4 separate regions of the Homo sapiens genome follow, and regions 1, 2 and 3 are each linked to region 4. Evidence: promoter capture Hi-C in 16 types of primary human blood cells and fetal thymus (Javierre and others, 2016). All regions are on one chromosome and are shown on one strand. The core of a region is centred on a gene start or on the middle of the fragment in contact, and the rest is flanking DNA. Distances in the headings are between cores, read along the strand shown. Region 1 overlaps RAB3GAP1 (RAB3 GTPase activating protein catalytic subunit 1). Region 2 overlaps ZRANB3 (zinc finger RANBP2-type containing 3). Region 3 overlaps RAB3GAP1 (RAB3 GTPase activating protein catalytic subunit 1). Region 4 holds the start of UBXN4 (UBX domain protein 4).

Region 1 (2,857 bases), core at 57-2,556, 600 kb before region 4:
CCCAGGATTCCCCTCCAGCAACTCTTTCTCTTAACTTTTGTCACCATAGGTTAGCTTTGTCAGTTTTTGAACCTTTTAAATGGCATGCTTTGCTTACTCTTTTGTATATAAATGTAATCATACATTGTGTACTCTTTCGTTGTATAATCATACATTATATACCATTGAGCTTTTTTATTTACCGATTTTGAGAGTCATCCTTGTTGTTGCAGGCTTCAGTGTTTGTGCATGTGTTATTAGTATTCTATTCTATGAATTTGTCACAATTTGTTTATCCATTCACCCGTTGATGGGTATTTGGGTTGTTTTCACTTTGGGCTAATATGAATAAAGCTGCTGTGAACATTCTTGTTTCTTTTGGTAGACAAAGGCACTCATTTTCTTTTGGATATATTCCTAAGAGTAGAGTTATTGGGCTATATGGTGCAAATATGTTTTGGCTTTAGTAGATCTATCTAAATAGTCTGTCTAAGTGGTTGAACTAGTTAACCTTCTCACCAACAATTTATAGTAGTATAGTTATTCTACAGAATCCTCCCCATTTGATGTGTTCTCAAGACCACTCCCAGGTTTAGTGATTTTCTAGGAAGACTCATAAGACTTAGCCCATAATCATGCTCGTGGCTATAATTTATTACAAGAAGATCAGCAAAGAGAAAAGGCACATGGGATGAAGTTTGAAAGAGATGAGGTTTAAGCTTCCAAAAAGCTTCCCCTACTGTAGTTACACAGAGTGCACTTAATTCCTGTTGCAACAAATTGTGACCACATGTGTGAAATGTTGTCTTCCCTGGGAAGCTTGTTAGAGGCACAGCAGTGGGAGTTATCAGTAGGGGCTGGTCAAGTAGGCATCCTTTGCTTAGGCATAGGGTTAACCATACCAAAATCTAGACTCCCATAAAGAAAGTAGGTGTTTAGCATAAACCATATTATTTGCACAAAGTGTTTAGGCATAGTGAGTCATTTTTATCAGTTCTGGGAATGGTGGGAACCTTCTCAAAATCCAGGTTCTCAGCTGCCAGCCAAGGGCCAACTTTCAAGCAGGCCTTTCTAAGAATGGCAGTCTCAGACCTGCAATATTAACTCTTTTCTGCACACTTGATATTTTTGGTCATTTTAATTTTTGCCTTTCTGAAGGGTAGGAGGTAGGATCTTGTGGTTTTACATTTTCCTGAAGCATATATATATTTATTGCCCATTTGTCTATCTTCTTGGTGAAAAGCCTGTTCAAGGCCTTTGCCTATTTTTTTCTTAAAGCAGTTGTCTTTTTTTTTCTTATTACTTTATAGGAATTCTTCATATATTCTGGATATGAGTCCTTAGATACTTGTATTGCAAATATTTTGTTGCTTATCTATTCACTTACTTCTTTTTTTTTTTTTTTTGAGACAGTCTCACTCTGTCATCCAGGCTGGAGTGCAGTGGTGTGGTCTCGGCTCACTGCAGCCTGAGTCTTCCGGGTTCAAGCGATTCTCCTGCCTCAGCCTCCCGAGTAGCTGGGACTACAGGAGTGTGCCACCATACCTGGCTAATTTTTTGTATTTTTAGTAGAGATGGGGTTTCACTATGTTGGCCAGGCTGGTCTCGAACTCCTGACCTCGTGATCTGCCTGTCTGGGCCTCCCAAAGTGCTGGGATTATAGGTGTGAGCCACCGCGCCTGGCCTGTTCACTTTCTTAATGATGCCTTGGGTTGAAGAGGTGTTCTTAATTTTAATACAGTCTCATCTATCCTTGTTTTTCTTATGTGGTTAGTGCTTTTTGTGTTCTGCTTAAGAACTCTTTACCAAGTACTGAAGATATTTTCTTTTCTTTTGGAAGCTTTATTGTTTTACCTATATCATTTGTTTGTGACCCACCTCAAATTAATTGTTTGGTAAGAGGAACAGGTTAAGATTCTCTTTTCTCTATAGGGAGATTGAATTGTTCCACCACCACTGTTGAAAAGATCTGCCTTTTCCCATTGAGTGGCAGTGATATCTTTGATGTAAATCAAGCAACTGTATGTGTTTTGGTCTATTTCTGGACTATTTATTCTGTTCCGTTGGTCTCTGTCGTGTGCCAGTAATGTACTGTCATCATTATTGTAGCTTTATAATAAGTCTATCTGGTAGTGTAAATCTTCTAACTTTGTTACTCTTCAACATTATCTTAGCTATTCTAGGTCCTTTGCATTGTTATATCAATTTGAGAATCAGCTTGTTAATTTTTATAAACAAACACATATTCAAAATCTTGCTGGGATTTTAATTCAGATTGCATTGAATTTGTAGATCAATTTATGGAGAATTGACATCTTAATATTGAGTCCATTAAATATCTTCAATTTTATTTAAAGTTTCTGTTCATTTATCTCATTAGTGTTTTAGTTTTCAATGTAGAGGTCTTACATATCTTTCATTAGATATATTTCCAAGGTATTTGTAATTTCTTAAATGGTTTTATAAATGGTATTTTAAAAGTTCATTTTCCAATTTTTTTCCCTTGATAGATATAAACAGTTGATTTTTATATATTGACCTTGGATATAACAATCTTGCTACATTGACTTATTAGTAGTTTAGAGATTATTTGGAGTTTTCTACATACACAATCATGTCGTCTTTTAGTAAAGATGATTTGAATTCTGATTTTGCAATCTTTATGCTTTTGAATTACTTTTCTTATCTTATTGCAGTGGCTAGGACCTCCAGTACAGTGTTGAATACTGGACATTATTCTCTTGTTCCCAACCTCAGAAAGAAAGCATATGATAGTCATTGAAGGCACCTGATGTAGATATCACTTATCATATTAAGGAAGTTCCATTCCTAGTTTGCTTAGAGTTTTGTTTTTTGTTTTTTTTTTAATCATGAACAG
Region 2 (2,749 bases), core at 11-2,510, 520 kb before region 4:
TTTTTTTTTTTTTTGAGACAGAGTCACACTCTTTTGCCCAGGCTGGAGTGCAGTGGCACGATCTTGGCTCACTGCAACCTGTACCTCCCGGGTTCAAGCGATTCTCCTGCCTCAGCCTCCCAAGTAGCTGGGATTACTGGTGCCTGCCACCATGCCCAGATAATTTTTGTATTTTTAGTAGAGTCGGGGTTTCACCATATTGGCCAGGCTGGTCACGAATTCCTGACCTCAGGTGATCCGCCTGCCTCGGCCTCCCAGAGTGTTGGGATTACAGGTGTGAGCCACTGTGCCCAGCCTTACTTCAGCTCTTTTAAGGTGAAAAGGAAAGCTTTCATCTCAGCTCTACTCTGGTTGTGAAAAGATATGTCAACAACTCATCTGCTTAGTGTCTTGTGTTTGGAAAATTATTTGGGTGATAACATTTTATGGTAAAGGGACATGTAAGTATTTAGAACAGTCATAAAAATATATTTGAGACCATTAACAGAGATGTCAAGAAGAAGCAGGCTACTAGGCTGGTGGCAGAGCCTGAATACGGGTCAGTGAGGTGGTCGCTGTGGTTTGGTTTGGCAGCAGGTGCATTATACCCTCTACCAGGAGCTTGCAGTTCTCTCCGTCTCCACCCCAACGGGGATAAAACATTGATCAGGTAATCCAAGAGGCAGAGCTTTCATTGTATAGAGTAAAAAAAGATTAAAGAATTTAAGGGCTTCTGGATTTCTGTGGTATGCTCTGCCTGGTGTCTGTCCTTTGGTTTCTCTACCCTCTTGGGACCATTTCTCTGTCCCTCTCATGTGATGGTCTGAGAAAGAGGCATGGCCTAAAGATCCCCCAACATGGGGCATGAGGGTGGCTCAGGCACTTAAACCTGCCTCAAGATGAATAAAGGAGTCATTGGTGCTCCCTGCAGCCTGGTTCACCATGTCAGAGGCTCCACTTGGTAGACCAGGCTCCAAACCTATAAGAGGAGCATTGATTACTGCCTGGCTTGGTTCTTGGTGTCTCTCTCTCAGTTATTGTCCATGCTAGAGGCTGCTTGGGGATTCTGGTATTCAAAATCCTAGCCATCTCCTCCTAAAAGAATATTATTACATGGTACACTATCTATCTATATCTATATTCGGTTTAGTAGAAAACCTGTAACTGAAAGTTTGGTCATCTCCAACATATTATCTTTTAAACATCGATATAATGGACCATGAGTTTTAAAAGTTTCAAATACTATCTTATATACTTATAAAGATTAGAAATTTAAAATTTTAGGCTGGGCGTGGTGGCTCACGTTTGTAATCCCAGCACTTTGGGAGGCTGAGGCAGGCAGATCACGAAGTCAGGAGTTCAAGACCAGGCTAGACAACACAGTGGAACCCTGTCTCTACTAAAAATAGAAAAATTAGCTAGGTGTGGTGGTGGGTGCTGCAATCCCAGCTATTCGGGAGGCTGAGGCAGGAGAATCACTTGAACCTGGGAGGCAGAGGTTGCAGTGAACCGAGATCGCACCACTGCACTCCAGCCTGGGTGACAGAGCTAGACTCAGTCTCAAAAAAAAAAAAAAAGAAATTTAAAATTTTAGACCAAATAAAAGTATTCATAATCTATCCAGGCCATAGATTCTCACATGGTTCCTGTGATCCTTTCAGAAAGTCATAAGTGTTTTCATACTAATAGTAAGATACTGTTTGCCTTTTCCACTCTCATTCTTTCACAAATGTATGGTGACTTTTTCCAGTGGCTACATGAAATGCTATCTCAACAAACTGAACGCAGAGATGGATATGGGAATCCCACTGTTTTCCATTAAGACTTTAGAGAAAATTGCTAAACATTTAAAACAATGACATTCTTCTCACTAAATATTTTTTTGACTTGGAAAATATAATTATTTTAAATAAAAAATGTTATTTTTATATATATATAATGGGTTTGTTTCTCTTAAAATATGCATTTACTCACTTAAAAATAATTGTTGGCCAGGCATAGTGGCTCACGCCTATAATCCTAGCACTTTAGGAGGCTGAGGCGGGCGGACTGTTTGAACCCAGGAGTTTGAGACCAGTCTGGGCAACACAGCAAGACCCTCTCTCTCCAAAAACAAACAAACAAACAAAAAACGGCCAGGTGGGTGGCTCACACCTGTAATCCCCGCACTTCGGGAGGCTGAGGTGGGTGGATCACAAGGTCAAGAGGTCGAGACAAGCTTGGCCAATATGGTGAAACATCATCTCTACTAAAAATACAAAAATTAGCCAGGCATGGTGGTGGGCACCTGTAGTCCCAGCTACCTGGAGGCTGAGGCAGGAGAATCGTTTGAACCCAGGAGGCAGAGGTTGCAGTGAGCCGAGATTGCACCACTGCACTCTAGCCTGGGCAACGGAGCGAGACTGTCCTAAAAAAAACAAAAAATACAAAACAGAAATAGAAAAATGTAATTGTTAATTATTCACATTTAAGTGAATAAATGAAAAAAACATTTTTTTTTTTTTGAGACAGAGTCTCATTTTGTCACCCAGGCTGGAGTGCAGTGGCGCGATCTTGGCTCACTGCAACCTCTGCCTCCCAGGTTCAAGCGATTCTCCTGCCTCAGCCTCCTGAGTAGCTACGATTAAAGGCACTTGCTACCACACCCAGCTAATTTTCATATTTTTAGTAGAGGTGGGGGGTTTCACCACGTTGGCCAGGCTGCTCTCAAACTCCTGACCTCAGGTGATCCACCCACCTTGGCCTCTCCAAGTGCTGGGATTACAGGCAT
Region 3 (2,767 bases), core at 268-2,767, 580 kb before region 4:
AGCCAAGGGAGCCTAGAAACATGACAGCTAAACATAATGTGGTATCTTGAAGGGGATCCTGGAACAGGAAAATGACATTAGATAAAAACTAAGGAAACCGCGTACATACATACATGCTGACAGCATTATTCATGACAGCCAAAAAATGGAACAAACCCAAATGTCTGTCAGTGATGAACAGATAAGACAAATATGGTCTGTCCATGCAATGGAGTATTATTCAGCCATAAAAAGGAATGAAGCACTGATATGTGTTACAACATGGGTGAATCTTGAAAATATTATGCTCAGTGAAAGCAGCCAGAAAACAATGGGCTGCATGTTGCGTCGTTCCATTTATATGAAAGGACCAGAATAGGCAAGTCCATAGAGACAGTAAGTTAGATTAGTAGTTGGCAGCAGTGGAGATTAGGAATGGGGGAAATCAGGAGTGGCTGCTTTGGGGTACTGGGTTTCTTTTGGGGGAGATGAAAGAAAATATTCTGGAATTAGATAATGGTGATGGTAACATAACCTTGCAAATATGCTAAAAACCACTGAAGTTATCCATTTTAAAGTGGTGAATTTTATGGTATGTGAGTTATAACTCAATTTTTAGAAACTAAGGAAATCTGAATACAGTATGGAATTTTAGTTAGCCAAAAAGTAGGGAGGAAGAGGAAACTATACTCAAAATGCCAATGTTATAAAAGACAGAGTGAAAAGCTGTTGCAGATTAGTTGAGATTAAAGAGCTATGATAACTAAAGGCAATGGATGATCCTTACCAAGACTTGTAGTGGTTGAGGGAAAGGGTCATAAAAGACACATTTTGCGGCCGGGCGCGGTGGCTCATGCCTGTAATCTCAGCACTTTGGGAGGTTGAGGTAGGTGGATAATTTGAGGTCAGGAGTTCGAGACCAGCCTGGCCAACATAGTGAAACTCCGTCTTTACTAAAAATACAAAAATTGGCCGGGCAGTAGTGGCCATGTGCCTGTAGTCTTAGCTACTCAGGAGGCTGAGGCAGGAGAATCGCTTGAGCCTGGGAGGCGGAGGTTGTGGGGAGCCAAGATCGCACCACTGCACTCCAGTCTGGGCCAACAGAGAAAGACCCTGTCTCAAAAAAAAAAAAAAAAAAAAAAAAAAGACACATATGGGATCAGTTGACAAAACTGCAATAAAGATAGTAGGTTAGATTACAATTATTTTTATCAGTGTTAAATTTATTGTATATAATCAGAATCATTTGCATTTTGATTATATAATAAAATATTTTTAATTTTAGGAAATACAGATATTTTGGGATAAGGGACATGAGTGTGCGACTTATTCTGAAATTATTCGAAACAAGTTTATGTCTATAGTATGTACACACATGAAAGCAGAGAAAGATGCAAGGGATCCAGAACAGAGGAGGGAGACAGGTCATACGTGAATCCAGGTAAAGGGGAATCACATATTTCACGTTATTCCTGCAAATTTGTTTTTCTGTGAATCAGGGGAAAACAAAATTCAGAAAGGTGGGTATTAGCAAGGATGTACAACAGAGGGAACTCATTACTCTAGATAAGAATGTAAATCTGTTGAAACACTTTGTAGGATAATTATGTTGTACATTTCCTAGTTCAATTGTTAGGTATATATCCTAAAGTAATTGCTGTACATGTCCCATTTGCACCAGGAAATATGTGCAATAATGTAATAGGAGCATCATTTGTAATAGCCAAAAACTGAGGAGCTATCCACTACTATTAGTGTAGGAACATTTTAATACAGCAGTGAAAATGAGTAAACTATAGCATATTGGAATGGTATACGAATATCAAAATACTGAATGAAAAAAAGCAAGTCACTGAGGGCTATAAACAGAAACACTCCATTAATATAAAGGTTAAAACTAGACAAAAGTAAACAATATATTATTTAAGGCTACATATGTGAAAAAAACCATAAAGAAAAGCAAAAGAATGATTTGTAGTTAATTCTGGGGATGGAGGGTACACAGGAGGACTTGGAAAAGCCTGGTAACATTCTGTTTCCTAAGCTGGTGTTTTCTTTAAACTATTTCTAATACTCTAGTATGTATATTTCTTAATTTAAAAAAAGTTTCAAATCAGACAAAACTCTCTAAGCCAAAAAAAAGTCCACCACAAGTCATTAAATAAAGCAAATAATAAAACAGTATGTAAGTTATTAATTTTTGTTAAGAAATTACATATGCATCTACATTTTTGTGTTTAAATGGACATACAAGTAGTTTGAGAGGATAAACACGAAAATGTGGTTTTGGGGAAGTAGGATTTCAGGAAAATTTCTGCATCACCTGTATTTTTTTTAAAATTTTGAAATCCATGAGCATTTATCAGTCAGACTCACATTATGAGATTATACTTCTTAAAATTTTTATTGATGTAAAAGAATTGTACATATTTATAGGGTTATACTTCTTTTATCTTTACTGTTGAATAAGGAGCCTAAAGGTAGGGTCCATGTTTTGTACATACTTCTCTGTATTCTTATAATAAGAATTGGAAAAAAAATAAACCAAAACAACTAAAACCAAAAAATGTGTGGGAAGTCACTAACAATGTTTAGAAATATTAAGTGAGAAAAGCAGGTTAAAAGGCAGTATTTTACATATTTAATATTAGTGCCCTTAGTACGTGTATTCTGCGTCTTAAAATGAAAATGCTCCACTGTCAATGGTTGTTTTCTCTTGGTATTGTAATCAGTCGGTAGTTTTTATTTTCTTTGTATTTTCCTTATTTGTGTGTATTACATAAGAAAG
Region 4 (2,700 bases), core at 119-2,618:
ACTATGAAGGATTCTTATTTAATTCTAAAATTAGAGATAATTAAAGACATAGCTCTATTGGAATAATTTCTAGATTGATCAAATTTCCAGAAGTCCATTAAAGTTGATGTTAAAGGTCAATTCTAATTTTTCTGTAGGATTGTTGTCCTATAGAAGCAACTGTCCCTAATCAGCATTATGTCTCAGTTTATAATAACACTATATACGAGAGGCCTGATTGGGAAAAAAAGTACAAAAATCGGAGTGCAAATAATTAGCTATTTTTAGGGAAAATATCTGTAGGAAAGGTGGTATATTCAGATGTATCACTTCCTTTATCTTGCAAAGATTGTCAGATAGATGTACTGCTGGAGGATAAATTTAATTGATGTAGAATTTAACATAATAGTATATGCAACTTTAAATAAACCATGCAAGCCTTTAGCTAATAGTTATTACAGACCATGTGATTTCATGAAAGTATTAAATATGGATCAGTTTTCATTTAATGGCAGCCAATCACAAAGCGCCACATCTTGATTATAGGACATTCTCCCAGAAAATTGGAAAATAAATCACTATCTAGTCTCTTTTGTATTACCATGGAAAGTAGCTGGAAAAGAAATAATCTATTCTCTGCTTTGTGTTACTTTAAAAAGTAGCTGTGGCAATAGCCTAACGCGTTTTGAAGTTTTGAAATGATCTCTATCCAGTGTCTAGGAAATTGCTGAAGGCCTGCGTTCTACCAATTCCTCCGCTTAGGCACATGGACTACAGGTTATTAAAGAAGGTGACTTGCGGTTTTTATCCCGTTTTTCTGCAAGGTTGGGCTACGTTCAGAAGAAATCAAAGCCTCGGAGTTAATCCCGACAAAGCCCATTTAGTTCCATGCGAGGACTATTTCCTCCACACTGAGAGTCTCAACGAGGCCGAGAATAGCATATGCCAGTTGGAGTGACACTTATTTCTCCCTCTCCCCTTTATAGAATGTGTAGTGGCCCTCACTACTGCCCCCTTTAGCTGTGCCTCAGAACCCACAGTTACATGCTCCACAATATGGAGGCGAATAAGCCTAAGTGGACTACAATTCCCATCATGCCTCACTGCAGGCGCCGCCGACGTGTCTTAGCGGTTAGTCATCCCTCTTACCGCTTTCCTCCACTTCCTGGACTGCGCGACCGGAGGCCTAGCGGGCGCGCGCCCGCACCATCGACTCGCCAACGAGAGAAGGTCCTGGGGCACGGACACCGACGGGTTGCGACTGTGACGTGAGGTGTTCTCGCGCGCGCTAGCGCGCGTCTCCGGGTGCCGCTGACGGGCGTGCGCGCTTGTGCGGAGCCGGAGGTGGGGGCCGAACCAGCCAAGGTTGCGGGGGCCGCAGAGCCGGACGAAGACGGAGGGCGGAGCCGGCTTCGGGACTGCGGAGACTACACACCGAGCGAGCGCCTGGGCCCGAAGGGAGCGATGCTGTGGTTCCAGGGCGCCATTCCGGCCGCCATCGCGACGGCCAAAAGGAGCGGCGCGGTCTTCGTGGTGTTCGTGGCAGGTGAAGGAGGCAGGGGTTCGAGAGGCGGCCGGGACACCCCTCCGGCCTACCTTCATCCTCTTGTATACCTCAGCCGCCGGCCCGCCCTCCCCGAGACGCGGGCTCCTGTCGGCTCGCACAATTGCCACTACTACCCCGCGCCCCAGGGACGGCTGCGACTCCGCCGCCAGATCCCCCAGAGGGGCCATGCAGACCCTCAGCGCCCTGCTCCTTCAGGCCCCGGGCGCCCCCAGCCTTTCCTCAGTGTCTGCGAGGCCCGGGCTGCCGGCCCGTGGCTGTTCAGCGCCTCCCCGGTTCGTTTGAGATACAGTGGGCCTGGCCCCACCGCTGCGTCTCCCGGCAGCCGGGCCGGAGGCACCGTCTGGCCCTGGTCTCCAAAGCGCCCCGAGGCCCGCCGAAATCTCCCCGCTCGGGGCGACGGACGCGGCCAGCAGGCCCCAGCCGCCCAGCCCCGCTCGTCGCCCCGAGCCTCTCCCCTGCGCAGCCAGACCCCCGCGACCCTCTCCCTGACGTCCCTCTCTGTCACCAAGGACCCTCTTTGTGCTGCTTGAACGCCCGTTTCGTTACTGCTGTTTAGATGGAGGTAGGAACGGGCCATTAGGCAAGCAGTTGGGTTGTAATTAGTTGTGGACTGTCGGGAAGAAAGCTGTGTCATCGATAAGCAACAAAGAGAAACCACCTGATGTTCACGGTTACTGGTGTTAGTACGTTCCTGAAACGTAAACTTTTGAGCTGAATAGAGGTTTAATTTTTCTTTATGGCAGTCTTGGTAGGGGATCTAGTGTGAAATAATGTAAGTTTAAAAAAAATCCATTAGTTTCAAAGAAAATAGACGTTCAGTCCTTGGTTTCTTCCCTTTGTTGTCTTCTTAGGCTAAAATCTACACGACTTTGAGAACGTTTATTAACTCATATATTCTCTGTTGCTCTAGGCTATTTTGCTCCATATTCTCCTGTTTTATTACTGAAATCTTGTAGATTTACAGTGAACTCCCTGCCTCTACGGTTCTGCTCATACTCATTACATGGACCAAATCAATGTTTGTGGCTGTTGTTAATTTGAGGTGTATTTCTTCAACTATTTGTGTTTAATAACGGTTTATTCATAATTAACTCGTCTTTTAATAGCTCTATAACTTTATGCACTGCAGTGAAGAACGAATTACTGAAATGTGA

The links. The method cuts DNA at HindIII sites, captures the fragments that hold promoters and counts their contacts. A CHiCAGO score of 5 or more calls a contact.
Region 1: a fragment that was not itself captured here is called in contact with the fragment with the promoter of UBXN4 in region 4 in 9 of 17 cell types (M0 macrophages, naive CD4 T cells, activated CD4 T cells and 6 more); the score reaches 8.1 in M0 macrophages.
Region 2: a fragment that was not itself captured here is called in contact with the fragment with the promoter of UBXN4 in region 4 in 1 of 17 cell types (erythroblasts); the score reaches 5.4 in erythroblasts.
Region 3: a fragment that was not itself captured here is called in contact with the fragment with the promoter of UBXN4 in region 4 in 3 of 17 cell types (non-activated CD4 T cells, erythroblasts and naive CD8 T cells); the score reaches 7.0 in non-activated CD4 T cells.

Annotation. Positions count from the first base shown.
Region 1 is chr2:135,139,860-135,142,716 of GRCh38, forward strand. All of the region lies in intron 17 of RAB3GAP1 (RAB3 GTPase activating protein catalytic subunit 1), which reads left to right. Among named protein-coding and RNA genes, the nearest start is that of SNORA40B, 4.7 kb to the left of the region's middle. The HindIII fragment of the contact is 1,021 bases long and covers 797-1,817 here.
Region 2 is chr2:135,220,861-135,223,609 of GRCh38, forward strand. All of the region lies in intron 15 of ZRANB3 (zinc finger RANBP2-type containing 3), which reads right to left. Among named protein-coding and RNA genes, the nearest start is that of SNORA40B, 86 kb to the left of the region's middle. RefSeq lists a silencer at 2,481-2,645. The HindIII fragment of the contact is 1,869 bases long and covers 327-2,195 here.
Region 3 is chr2:135,159,576-135,162,342 of GRCh38, forward strand. All of the region lies in intron 19 of RAB3GAP1 (RAB3 GTPase activating protein catalytic subunit 1), which reads left to right. Among named protein-coding and RNA genes, the nearest start is that of SNORA40B, 24 kb to the left of the region's middle. The HindIII fragment of the contact is 6,425 bases long and covers 1-2,767 here.
Region 4 is chr2:135,740,487-135,743,186 of GRCh38, forward strand. It overlaps UBXN4 (UBX domain protein 4), which reads left to right and starts at 1,369. Exons shown (of 13, transcript NM_014607.4): 1 at 1,369-1,525. The coding sequence starts at 1,444. It overlaps LOC107985946 (a long non-coding RNA gene), which reads right to left and starts at 2,158. Exons shown (of 1, transcript NR_163478.1): 1 at 343-2,158. RefSeq lists enhancers at 987-1,116, 1,447-1,506, 1,835-2,610 and a silencer at 1,907-1,956. The HindIII fragment of the contact is 10,462 bases long and covers 1-2,700 here.